Linked DNA regions of Homo sapiens: all the other regions are linked to region 1. Evidence: promoter capture Hi-C in 16 types of primary human blood cells and fetal thymus (Javierre and others, 2016). All regions are on one chromosome and are shown on one strand. The core of a region is centred on a gene start or on the middle of the fragment in contact, and the rest is flanking DNA. Distances in the headings are between cores, read along the strand shown. Region 1 holds the start of AQP5 (aquaporin 5). Region 2 overlaps CERS5 (ceramide synthase 5). Region 3 holds the start of GPD1 (glycerol-3-phosphate dehydrogenase 1).

Region 1 (3,671 bases), core at 408-2,907:
CCACCATGGCCTGGCCCTGCGTTGTGTTGTTGTTGAGCTGCAAGGGGATAGCGGGTTAGGACCCCGGCCACCTTCTGGCTGTATAGCCAGGGGCTCGGGGAGTAGGGCTTTTGGCCTCCAGGGACACTTAGAGCACCTTGGCACCTGGAAGCCAAGTCCTGTGGACATCGCCCCAGCGAAGCCATTTGTTAAAGACACTGTACATTTCATAGTTTGCACAGGCTTGAAGCTCAGGCCTGTGGCCAAAGGGCAGAGCGTCAGGGTAGCTTTTCCTGGACACGGGCCTATCAATGGCTCTGCCCAACCCCCAGCCCCCATAAGCTGGCATTTACCCTCCATCCTGTGGGCAGCTGCCCGGTTTGCCTGCCTCACACCCCATCCCGGCCTCCTGCCCGTGCCTGGCCCCATGCCAGTGCCAGCCTTAAACCCGTCTCTCCAGTGCGGCTGACTCACAGCTTGACAATGGCCAAGCAAATCCTCCTCTGTGTTTGATTAATGAACCCAGTTTGCATGGGGTTGGGGGCTGACTCTGGGGCTGCAGGAGGTGGGAGGGAGGCAGGGGTGCGGGGTTGAGGGGAGGAGCACAGGTTGGGGAAAGAGGGAACCAATACTCAACAGAAACTGCTCTGCACTGGCCCCACATTAGGGGGTTCCTATCTACGGTTTCTAAATGTGAGCCCCTTGACACCTGCTGTGGCAGACACAACCATCCCCATGGAGGCGCTGAGAACAATGAAGCACAGACAGGCCAGGGTCACCCAAAGCCGTGATGACAGCCCGCTTTTCTCTGGTGGTTCTACTCAACCGCTCCACTGAGGTGATGGGAGAGGTGAGGGGCCCAGGAGGAAGGTGGAGCTCAAAGGTGAGACAGGAGGAGGCAGAAGTTTCTGGCAGGAGAGGAGGGGTAGCAGGCATTGGAGAGAGACCAGGGTGGGCCAGCATGAGGGGAGGGGGAGAGGAGGTGGGCAGGAAGGGAGCACATATCAGCCTGGAGAGTTGCCTTCCTGGCCTTGGGAGGCTCTTGCCTTCCTGGTGAAGGGTGTGGGCTGGCCCACTCTGCGGCACCCCTTTTTTCCAGGTGGGGTAAGAGGCCTGGTCCTGAGCCCACCCCAGGGTCGAGGCTCCCACCCCCCCCCCAGGGCACTCACCGCGTTGACGGCCAGATTGCCCCGGGCATTGAGCGGTGCCACACCGTAGAGGATGCCAGCCCCGGCAATGGCGCCCACCAGCTGGGCCGCCACGTAGAAGAAAGCCCGGAGCAGCGAGATCTGGTTGCCCACCAAGAGGGCCAGGGTGATGGCGGGGTTGATGTGGCCGCCGCTCACGGGTCCCAGGGCCTGGGCCAGCGTGCCTATGGCCAGGCCAAACGCCAGCGCGATCTGCAGGATGGTAGGCAGCGCCGACGGCCACTTGAGGGCCGAGCCCAGGCCAAAGAAGACGAAGATGAGGGTGGCCAAGAACTCTGCGAACACGGCCTTGAGGAAGGCCACGGAGCACACCTCCTTCTTCATGGTGGCCGCGGGGGCCCGGCGGCAGCTGCCGCGGCGGGGGGCGCCCGTTGGGTCGCAGGCGGCGGAGGAGGTGGATGCGGCGGGGGCGGGGGCCTGGCTGCGGGGCGCCGCGCACTGTCCCGCGCCCACTCCGAGGCTGGCGGCCTGGCGCGGGCCCTGCTGGGGCGCGCTATATAGGGGGCGGGCGGCCGGGCGCGGGGCCGGCGCGGGGGGGCAGGGGGCGGCTCCTACGCTCGGGGGCCAGCGCGGCGCGCGGGTTGGGAGGCTCCAGGCCGCTGCGGGCCCGCCGCTCTCCGTCGTCCAGCGCAACCCCGGCGCGACCCCCGCCCCCCGGCCGGGGCAGCCGCCGGCCCGTCCGGGCCACGTGACCCAGGCGGCGGTGTAGACCGGCCCAGCGTCCCGGGCCCTGCGCATGATGCGCCCAGGTTGGCTCCCGCGCTCTCCTCGGTGCCGTGCGCCCCGGACTCCCTGGGAGACGGGGCTCGGTCCCGGCGCTTCACTCCGACCTCGGGGCGTCTAGCTCCGCCGGCCTTTACCGCGCTCCGTGCGCGGCCTTCCCCTTTTCTTCTCTTCGGGCTTTTGGTCCAGCTCCTCCTTTTCCTCCTGCGACCGGAGCATCCTGACCCGCCTCACCCCCGGCTGGGTCGGAGTGATGCTCGTCCCGCAGGTCGGCGCCGCTCACCTCCCTCACCGCCGGCGGCGGGGGCGGGCGGCCGGGCTGGGTCCTGCAGGGCGGTCCGGCCGTCCGACGTGGGCCGCTCCCGGCCTGGGCCGGGCGAGCTTCTGGGCTTGGAAGGCTGGCGTTTTGGGAAAAGTGGGCACCGTGCCAGCCTGCCCCGACGCTTCGCAATCCTCGACGCCCGGTAGCTGGGCAGTACCTGGACTAGGCAACGGATCCCCGGAGGCGCCCTCTCCCAGGCCGGGGTTCCCCTTGTCGACGGGACGGGACGGGGGTGTGACGTGAGGCCTTGAGACTCTGGGAGTTGGAGTGGGGGAGCAGGGGGGGTAGAGACGCACCACTGACCTCCCAAGCGCGGTCTTGGCGTCTTCCCTCTTCCTGCTAGAAGCCCCTCACCCTGGATCTAAGACTCTCCTTCTCTTCCTCCACCTCCCCTAAGTCTCCTTCAAACCCTCACTTGGTCTTGATCTCTCTCCCCTCGAAATCTGTTTCTGTCAGTCAGTCTTTGCAAAACCCTATTTCTCTTTTTGTCTCTGTCTTTGGTCTCTGACCCTCTCCCTCTGCCAGCCTCTTCCTCTCGGTCTCTCTCCGAGAGGTCTCTTTCTCATTTCAGTCTCTCTGTTCTCCACCTCTCCATCTCTCTCTCTCTCACACCTTCTCATTTTCTGTTTTTCCTTCCTGCCTTTTGCTGTCTTAGTCTCTCTGTCTCTCTCTATTCATTTCTCTCATCCTGCAGTTTCTGTCTCCTGGCTATTTTCACCTTTCCTCTGCCTCTTAATTTTTGTGCCTTTCTTTGTTTCTGTCTGTTTCTACCTCATTTTCCATGTCTCTCTCTCTTACATGTGGTCTTTCTCAGTCTCCCCAAAGTCAAGTTCTTCTACCCCTGGTCTGGGTGACACTTTCTTCCAGTTCCCATCCCCCTTCCCTCTGAGCTTGTAACCCCTTTGTGACCTGCTGCCTCCTCGCACACCACCCTCTCCCTCTTCCCACCCACTCCAGGTCGGGCATGTGGAGAACGAGGCTGGAGGGCTCTCTAGGGCTTAGAGGGGGAGGACCCACCCCCAGGATCCCGGGAGAGGAGCTGCATTAAAGACTCCCATCCCCATGTGTGTTAGAGAAGCCCTTAGCACAGTGCCTGGCACAGAGTAAGGCTCAGTAAAGTCTCCTTACGTTGTGACTGTTAATTTTAAAAGCCCCTTGAGGGTTTAGTGTGGTGCTAAGCTAGGGGGAAGAGTCCAGCGGGAGGGTGCAGAGGAAGTAGAGAACAGGTGCCTCCTCTGTCAGTTTGTCAGGCAGGGCTGAGGGGAGGAGCCTGCAGGAATGCTAAGGACTTGGAGGAGCGGGCTCTGGGCTCTGTGGCAGCTAAGATGCCAAAGAAAACAAGGGCTAAAGAAACCCCGCTATTGTTCCTGCCCAGCTCTGGCATTTCCTGCTGGAGCAGCTCCTCCCCCAGGTCTCTCCTCTTAAGGCCGGAGGTCAGT
Region 2 (3,671 bases), core at 451-2,950, 200 kb before region 1:
CTAGAAGCACTCTTGCTATTTTGTTTCTTTTAAGACCCATTACCTCAGTAATATAATTCACTGCTGACTTGCCAATTCCTCTTTTACCGTTCTGGTCTTCCATAAAGAAAATAGACCACTCCACTCTTATTGTTGTTTTTGAGACAGGGTCTCAGCCTCACCCAGGCTGGACTGCAGTGGCACGAAGCTCACTCCAGCCTCGACCTCTTTGGCTCAAGCAATCCTCCTACCTCAGCCTCCCAAGTAGCCAGGACCATAGGTGCACACCACTATGCCCAGCTAATTAAAAAAAAAAAAAAAAATTGGGAGAGCGGGGCATGGTGGCTCACACCTGTAATCCCAGCACTTTGGGAGGCCGAGGCAGGGAGATCACTTGAGGCCAGGAGTTCGAGACCAGCCTGGCCAACATGGTGAAACCCCATCTCTACTAAAAATATAAAAATTAGCTGGGCATAGTGGTACATGCCTGTAATCCCAGCTACTCAGGAGGCTGAGGCATGAGAATTGCTTGAGTTGGAGAGGCAGAGGTTGCAGTGAGCCAAGATCACACTGTTGCACTCCAGCCTGGGCTGCAGAGGAAAACTCTGTCTCAAAAAAAAAAAAAAAAATTGTAGAGGCTGGGCATGGTGGCTCATGCCTGTAATCCCAGCACTTTGGGAGGCCGAGGAGGGCAGATCACTTGAGCCTAGGAGTTTGAGACCAGCCTTGGCAACATGGTGAAACCTTGTCTCTACAAAAAAATTTAAAAATTAGCTGGGTGTGATGGTGCATGCCTATAGTCTCTAGTCTCATCTACTTGGGAGGCTGAGGCAGGAGGATTGCTTGAACCCGGGAGGTTGAGACTGCAGTGAGCCGTGATCAAACCACTGTACTTCAGCCTGGGTGATAGAGTGAGACCCTGTCTCAGAAAAATAAATAAAATAAATTTTTGTAGAGGCCTGAGCTCCTGGCCTCAAGCGATCCTGCTGCCTCAGCTTCCCAAAGTTTTGGGATTACTGGCATGAGCCACTGCCCCTGGCCTAGAGCCACTTGTAGAATGCAATAGAAGGCATATCAAAAATATCGGGGCATGGCCTTGCATGCTGGCTCACACCTGTAATCCCAGCACTTTGGGAGGCCGAGGCAGGCAGATCACTTGAGGTCAGGAGTTTGAGACCAGCCTGGCTAACAACATGAAATCTCATCTCTACTAAAAATACAAAAATAGCCCCGCGTAGTGGCGGGCGCCTGTAATCCCAGCTACTTGGGAGGCTGAGGCAGGAGAATGGCTTGAACCTGGAAGGTGGAGGTTGCAGTGAGCTGAGATCGTGCCACTGGACTCCAGCCTGGGCAACAGAGCGACACTCCATCTCAAAAATAAATAAATATTGGGGCCTGGCATGGTGGCTCACACCTGTAATCCCAACACTTTGGAGGCCAAGGTGAGAGAATTGCTTGAGACCAGGACTTTGAGATCAGCCTGGGCAGCATAGCGAGACCCTGATCCTACAAAAAATAAAAATGTTAGCCAGATGTGGTGGCATGCATCTGTAGTCCCAGCTACTCAGGAGGCTGATGCAGGAAGATGGCTTGAGCCCAGGAGTTCAAAGCTGCAATGAACTATGATAGCGCCAGTGCACTCCAGCCTGGGCAAAGGAGTGAGACCCTGTCTCTTAAAGAAAGAGAGGCCAGGCACAGTGGCTCATGCCTGTAATCCCAGCACTTTGGGAGGCTGAGACGGGCGGATCACCTGAGGTCAGGAGTTCGAGACCAACCTGGCTAACATGGTGAAACCCCATCTCTACTAAAAATACAAAAATTAGCTGGGCGTGATGGCATGTGCCTATAATCCCAGCTACTTGGGAGGCTGAGGCAGGAGAATCTCTTGAACCCGGGAGGTGGAGGTTGCAGTGAGCCAAGATCACACCACTGCACTCCAGCTTAGGCAATAGAGCAAGACTCTATCACAAAAAAAAAAAAGAGAGAGAGAGAGATAAAGAGGTATATTGGGACAATTAGTCATCTTTCCTACATTTTCTCTTTTTTTCAGAGCCCAGAATCCTTGCATACATTTTCTCATTCTAAAATCCTACCTATTTAGTTTGTAGAAATGATTTATGTAGTAATCATAGACTGCTAAAAGCTAGAACTCCGGCCTCCTTTTACAGACAGTTACTAAGGCTTAGAAACATCCTTCAGCTTTTCAGAGGTTGCAACATACAACTGGTCTTTTTCCCCAGCCCAGTTCTCTTTCACTGATAGGGCCGTTCATCTTTTCCTATTCCTTAAACCCCCTTTCAAGTGTTAAGATTTAACCTCTTGTTCTAGTATTCTAGTATTTGAAGAACAAATTTATTTCCTGTTACACACTTCATATACATTTAAAAAAAAAAAAAAAAAAAAAAGAACAAATCAGCCAGGCATGGTGGCTCATGCCTGTAATCCCAGCACTTTGGGAGGCCAAGGCAGGTGGATTAACTGAGGTCAGGAGTTCGAGACCGGCCTCGCCAACATGGTGAAACCCTGTCTTTACTAAAAATACAAGAAATTAGCTGGGTGTGGTGGCATGCGCCTTAAGTCCCAGCTACTTGGGAGGCTGAGGCAGGAGAATCGCTTGAACCTAGGAGGCAGAGGTTGCGGTGAGCTGAGATCATGCCACTGCACTCCAGCTTGGGCAACAGAGTGAGACTCTGTCTCAAAAAAAAAAAAAAAAAAAAAAAGAAGAAGAACAAATCTGTATTCATCCTGTTCTTAGTTATTTAACATTATCCTTTTAACTTGAACTTTGCTTTTTTTTTTTTTTTTCTTTTTTTGAGACGGAGTCTCACTCTCTCACCCAGGCTGGAATGCAGTGACTTGATCTCAGCTCATTGCAGCCTCTGCTTCCCAGGTTCAAGCAGTTCTCATGCCTCAGCCTCTTGAGTAGCTAGCAGTACAGGCATACACTACCACAGCCAGCTAATTTTCATATTTTTAGTAGAGACAGGGTTTTGCCATGTTGGCCAGGCCGGTCTTGAACTCCCGGCCTCAAGTGATCCACCTGCCTCGGCCTCCCAAAGTGCTAGGATTACAGGCGTGAGCCACCGCATCTGGCCAACTTTGCTTTGTTTGTTTCATATCATTATTGCATATTTAAATGCATCTTACTCTATGTGCCTAGATACATAGTCTCTATTTGTGTTTCAGGAATCTCCCAAAGAATAAATATAGAGGGTACAATTTGGTCTTACTTTCTCTTCCTTCTCATCAACCACACTGAGCATTTATTAAATATTTTTTAAGTTTCCATATTCCCTATAGAGAACTGTAGCCTCACCTGATGGGGATGACTTGGAAAGCCATCTGACCATAAGTTAAGCATATTTAGCTATTTTGTTAAAGAACTGCAGAAAGGTGATTATTACCCACCAAAGCACAGAGGCTTGCCTTTGTGGGCCTCTGTTGACTGGTTCATTGCAGTGGACTGTACTCTTGCACAGTGCCTCAGTGCAGCATGTGAGTATAATGATTGAGAAGGGTCTATTCTTGTCCACTCAGATGCCCTGAGGAGTAACCCAGAATCTAATTATTCAATCTGAAATAGATATTTGGCTTAAGAGAGGTGAAATTATAATTTCTTTGTTTCTGTTGTTAAATTTCACCATACTATGTTTGCATGTTGTACACTTTTCTACAGCTTCTCTTTCTCCCCT
Region 3 (3,671 bases), core at 804-3,303, 140 kb before region 1:
CCACATCCCTAGGCAACCCCGCCTGACTGCCCCAACAAACTGCCATTCAGTGACCAGTCACTGCTCCAAACCAGCTACTCTTCACACTTCTCAAACCAGCCCGCTTCTCATATCTCCCAGGCATTCCTTTATACCTCCGAAACTCCCCGAGAGGACCTCCAAACCAATCTCGTCTCCTCCCTTCAGCCTCCCTTCCAGTGACCCCCAGCACCTCACTGCTTTCCTAAGCCTCTCCAGAGCCAACTGCCTCTCTTTTCTCCAGCAAACTCTTGGCCTGCGTCTGCCATTTTCTGTTCTCCTTGCTTCACCCACCCTGAACCCCACAACAGTGAGCCGCACCCTCCCCCATCCACATGAAGGTGTCCCTGGCACCTTAATAAGAGATATGCCAGTGGCGTTTGCCTTCAGATGGCCCTTGAGCTGGTCACAGATCTTGCCGATGAACTGATGGGGCACCACAAAGATCAGGATGTCAGCATCCTCTGCAGCCTGGACCACATCTGGGACAGCCACCTGTGGGGGTGACCAAGTGCTCGCGGGCCTGGCAGACCTCCCCTAGCCCCTGTGGAACCCTATTCAGGAGATCTGGGAGCCAAAGAGTGAGGCTGGTAGGGGAGCAGGAAGGCTTGTTTGGGACTGAATCTAGAAGGACTGAACTTGGAGGAATAAGACACTCTACTCCCTCCCCCCAGCTACCACTCTGTCTCCCTCCAGCTGTCCTGGGCTCTTGAGGACTCCTGGAAACCTCATCCCAGCACTCTCCTATCCCTTGGCTGTGGGACAGTGCGGGAGGCCAAAAGCAGCCTGGGCTTGGCAAAAGAAAGAGCTCAAATAAGATTTCATCACCCAGCTCCTCAGGAACCCCAGCTGGGAAGGGGGAGCCCCAGCCTTTCTGCTCTCTTCCCTGCTTCCCCTTTCCAGGTGGGGAGAGCCACGTGGATTTGACCAAAGACCGTAAGTCCAAGGAGCAGCCTCCAAGTCGGCTACTCACTCAGTGAATGAGTAACAGGATTAGTGCCGGAGGCAGGCACTACTGGACCCCAAGTCTGGGAGCCCAGTCTTTGGCTGCCATGGAGACCAACTTGTTCTCCCATCCCTTCCCCACCCACCCGCCTGGGAGCCTGTGAGGGGAAAGCATAGGTTCTCCTCAGTCCTCAGGAAAGGGCCCAGAGCAGCCCTCCTGAGACCTTCCCAAGTCCTGCTGCACCTGAAGCGGCCCTCTCAGCAGGAGGCACCTGTTGAGTAAGGTCGGCTCCAACTCCTGGCCCTCCCTTCCTCTCCCTGTTCTTCGCAGGGTGTTGGGGCTCACCACATTTGGGGGCAACTTGTGCCCTGGCAGGTATTTGACATTCTCATGCTGCGTGTTGATGATCTCAGTCAGCTTTTTGCCTCCAATGTCTTCCTCAAATACCCACATGGTCACCCGTGGGTCAAACTGTGCCAGCTGGGCTGCATTGCCACCCACGATCTTGGCGATGGCTGAGCCCCTGGTGGGAGGGGGAGCACAGGAAAGTACAGGAGGAGGGAACAGTGGCAGGAGTTGGGGCAGCGCCCCACCTCAGGATCTCACAGCAGCCCCCCAGGCTGTTCACTCCTACCTACCTTCCTTATCACCTCCACTCCCATGACAAATAGTCCCCAGTGACCTGGCAGTAGAAAGGAGACTCAGTCTCCTCACCCTTTGCTACTAGAGAAGGGAGCCCCACTTCTCATCTTCCCACCCCCAAACTCAAGCGGCTCTTCACATAGAGAGCTCTGGAGACGCCTTCCCATGGTGAACAGGTGCAGCTGCCCAGGAGGGCGGGGGTCAGGAGAGGGCCGGGCACCGTCTGTCCTGTGCTGCTATGATAGAAGATAGCAGCAGGGGCTGAACAGGAACCTGAGGGCCTTTCCCACCCATTCTGCCTCCTACCCACCTCTGTCTTGGGGGGCCTACCCTTCCCCCATATCACTTGACAGAGCTGCTTACCAGTTCCCGGAGCCTACAATGCAGACTTTCTTGCTAGCCATGGTGCCGCGTCTCTGCCTGAGCCGGCTCAGTGCCACACTCCCTAGCTCCTCTGCCGGCTAGGAGCATTTAACTCCACCACACGTGGGTGCAGCCAAGCCCCGCCCTCCAGGGGTGGGTGGGGAGGCTGGCGCCCAGGGAGATAGAGAGTCTGGCAGAGCCAGGGAAAGGAGAGACAGGGGTACAGACAGGTGTGGAACAGGAATGGGGCAGAGACTAGGCCCAGCTTTTTCTCCTGGGCTCATCGGCTGACAGTGCTGGCAAGCTTCTTCCCTTGGCCCCAGCCCAGCTTCCCACCATGGTCTCATTTTGAGGTCTGCTAAGAAAATAGCCCAGATAAGGAGCAGGTGACTGCTCTCCCTTGCTCCTTTCTGTCCCCCAGCATGAAATAAATTGTATTTAGCTTCAGTAGCAGCTAGGGGAATGCTTTTCAGAGGTAGGCTCCTCCATGACCCCCTATCCCCCCGCCAACCCTGCCACATATCCTCACAGGACCCTGTTCCACAGTTCTGTCCTCCAGCAGGCCCACGCTAGCTCCACTGCAGGGCTGGGGTGGGGGATGTGGGCCCACTTCCCACCTCTAAAGATGAGGCCACATAAGAGGTAAGGGCCTGCTTTGAGGACAGCCCAGCTCAAAAAAGGATGAGAGACTCCAGGTGCCTCAAAAGACAAGATTGTCTTGGTCACCCACAGAGGTCATCTTGGGGACTCATCCATGGGCCTCTCAGATGATCCCCACCCAAAAATGTGTTCTAGGGAAGGTGGGAAAGGTTAAAGTTAGAGAGCTCTGAGAATTGCGGTACACAATTTTGTTGTAGACTCTGGGCTTAAGAGGACAGGAGAGAATAGGAGGCAGGCAGAGTGCACACTGTCCTTGAAAGGCTTTGAGCCTCCTTCAACTCCTCCTCTCAGGGGTTTCCAAGGTACTGCCCCAGGGGCTTCATCAGGTGAATGGCTAGTTTGCAGAGGCCAGAAAAGGGGAAGGCAGGCAGTACCCGGGGCAGCTGTGTCCGTGGGGCTTTGTGGTCTCAGATGCTGTGATTGGGGGTAAGTTTGGTGTATGTTTTTTGGGGAAGGGCGAGAATGGAAGGAGCACCCTCAGCAGTTCAGGGCTCTGCATCGCCCACGGCCATCTGTTTGTCTAAGACGAGGGAAGCTCTGGTTTCCAGGCTGATCTGGAGAGTGGAGCAAGAGGCTCCTAACACTGTGCACCTTGGCCTAGAGGGCAGACACCACTGTGTGCTCATGTGCTGACCTCCTGGCTTGGCAGACGGCTAGGTGGGTGTTGCCATCCCCCTGGGCTGTTGCTGGCCAGCAACTGGTAACAAGCACTGGGCTACAGGGGAGTCTGTGTGCAACCCATGGGTAGGAGTAAGCAGGCAGGAGGTCAAGACTGGGGAGAAATGGCTTTCTAAGTTCCGGGGACTGCCCAGGAAAAACCAACCATATTCTCCTTCCATGGCCAGTAATTTCCCATAGGGAAACGGACATGAAATCAGTAGTTGGCTGTTTTTCTTAGCACAATGTTATACCTAATACAGAAACAGCCTCCCACAGACCACTCCTTTATTGCACTGGCACTGAGATGAAGGCTCCAGTGCCAGGCTGCCAGCTGGGAGCACTGATTACGGGTGATGGAAGAGAAAGGATGCTTCTGTCCCTG

Evidence for each region. Contacts are between HindIII fragments. The CHiCAGO score rates a contact against its expected background, and 5 or more counts as called.
Region 2: a contact is called between a fragment that was not itself captured here and the fragment with the promoter of AQP5 in region 1, in 1 of 17 cell types (neutrophils). The highest score is 7.6, in neutrophils.
Region 3: a contact is called between the fragment with the promoter of GPD1 here and the fragment with the promoter of AQP5 in region 1, in 7 of 17 cell types (neutrophils, M1 macrophages, endothelial precursors and 4 more). The highest score is 8.5, in neutrophils.

What each region holds. Positions count from the first base shown.
Region 1 is chr12:49,959,858-49,963,528 of GRCh38, reverse strand. AQP5 (aquaporin 5) reads right to left here and starts at 1,657. Exons shown (of 4, transcript NM_001651.4): 1 at 1,149-1,657; 2 at 1-37. The coding sequence starts at 1,511. It overlaps AQP5-AS1 (AQP5 and AQP2 antisense RNA 2), which reads left to right and starts at 746. Exons shown (of 3, transcript NR_110591.1): 1 at 746-862. The HindIII fragment of the contact is 7,065 bases long and covers 1-3,671 here.
Region 2 is chr12:50,160,898-50,164,568 of GRCh38, reverse strand. All of the region lies in intron 1 of CERS5 (ceramide synthase 5), which reads left to right. The region is part of intron 1 of LOC124902931 (a long non-coding RNA gene); the gene reads right to left. Among named protein-coding and RNA genes, the nearest start is that of CERS5, 4.6 kb to the left of the region's middle. The HindIII fragment of the contact is 8,796 bases long and covers 1-3,671 here.
Region 3 is chr12:50,102,390-50,106,060 of GRCh38, reverse strand. It overlaps GPD1 (glycerol-3-phosphate dehydrogenase 1), which reads right to left and starts at 2,053. Exons shown (of 8, transcript NM_005276.4): 1 at 1,970-2,053; 2 at 1,310-1,487; 3 at 373-513. The coding sequence starts at 2,010. RefSeq lists an enhancer at 2,994-3,043. The HindIII fragment of the contact is 4,893 bases long and covers 1-2,275 here.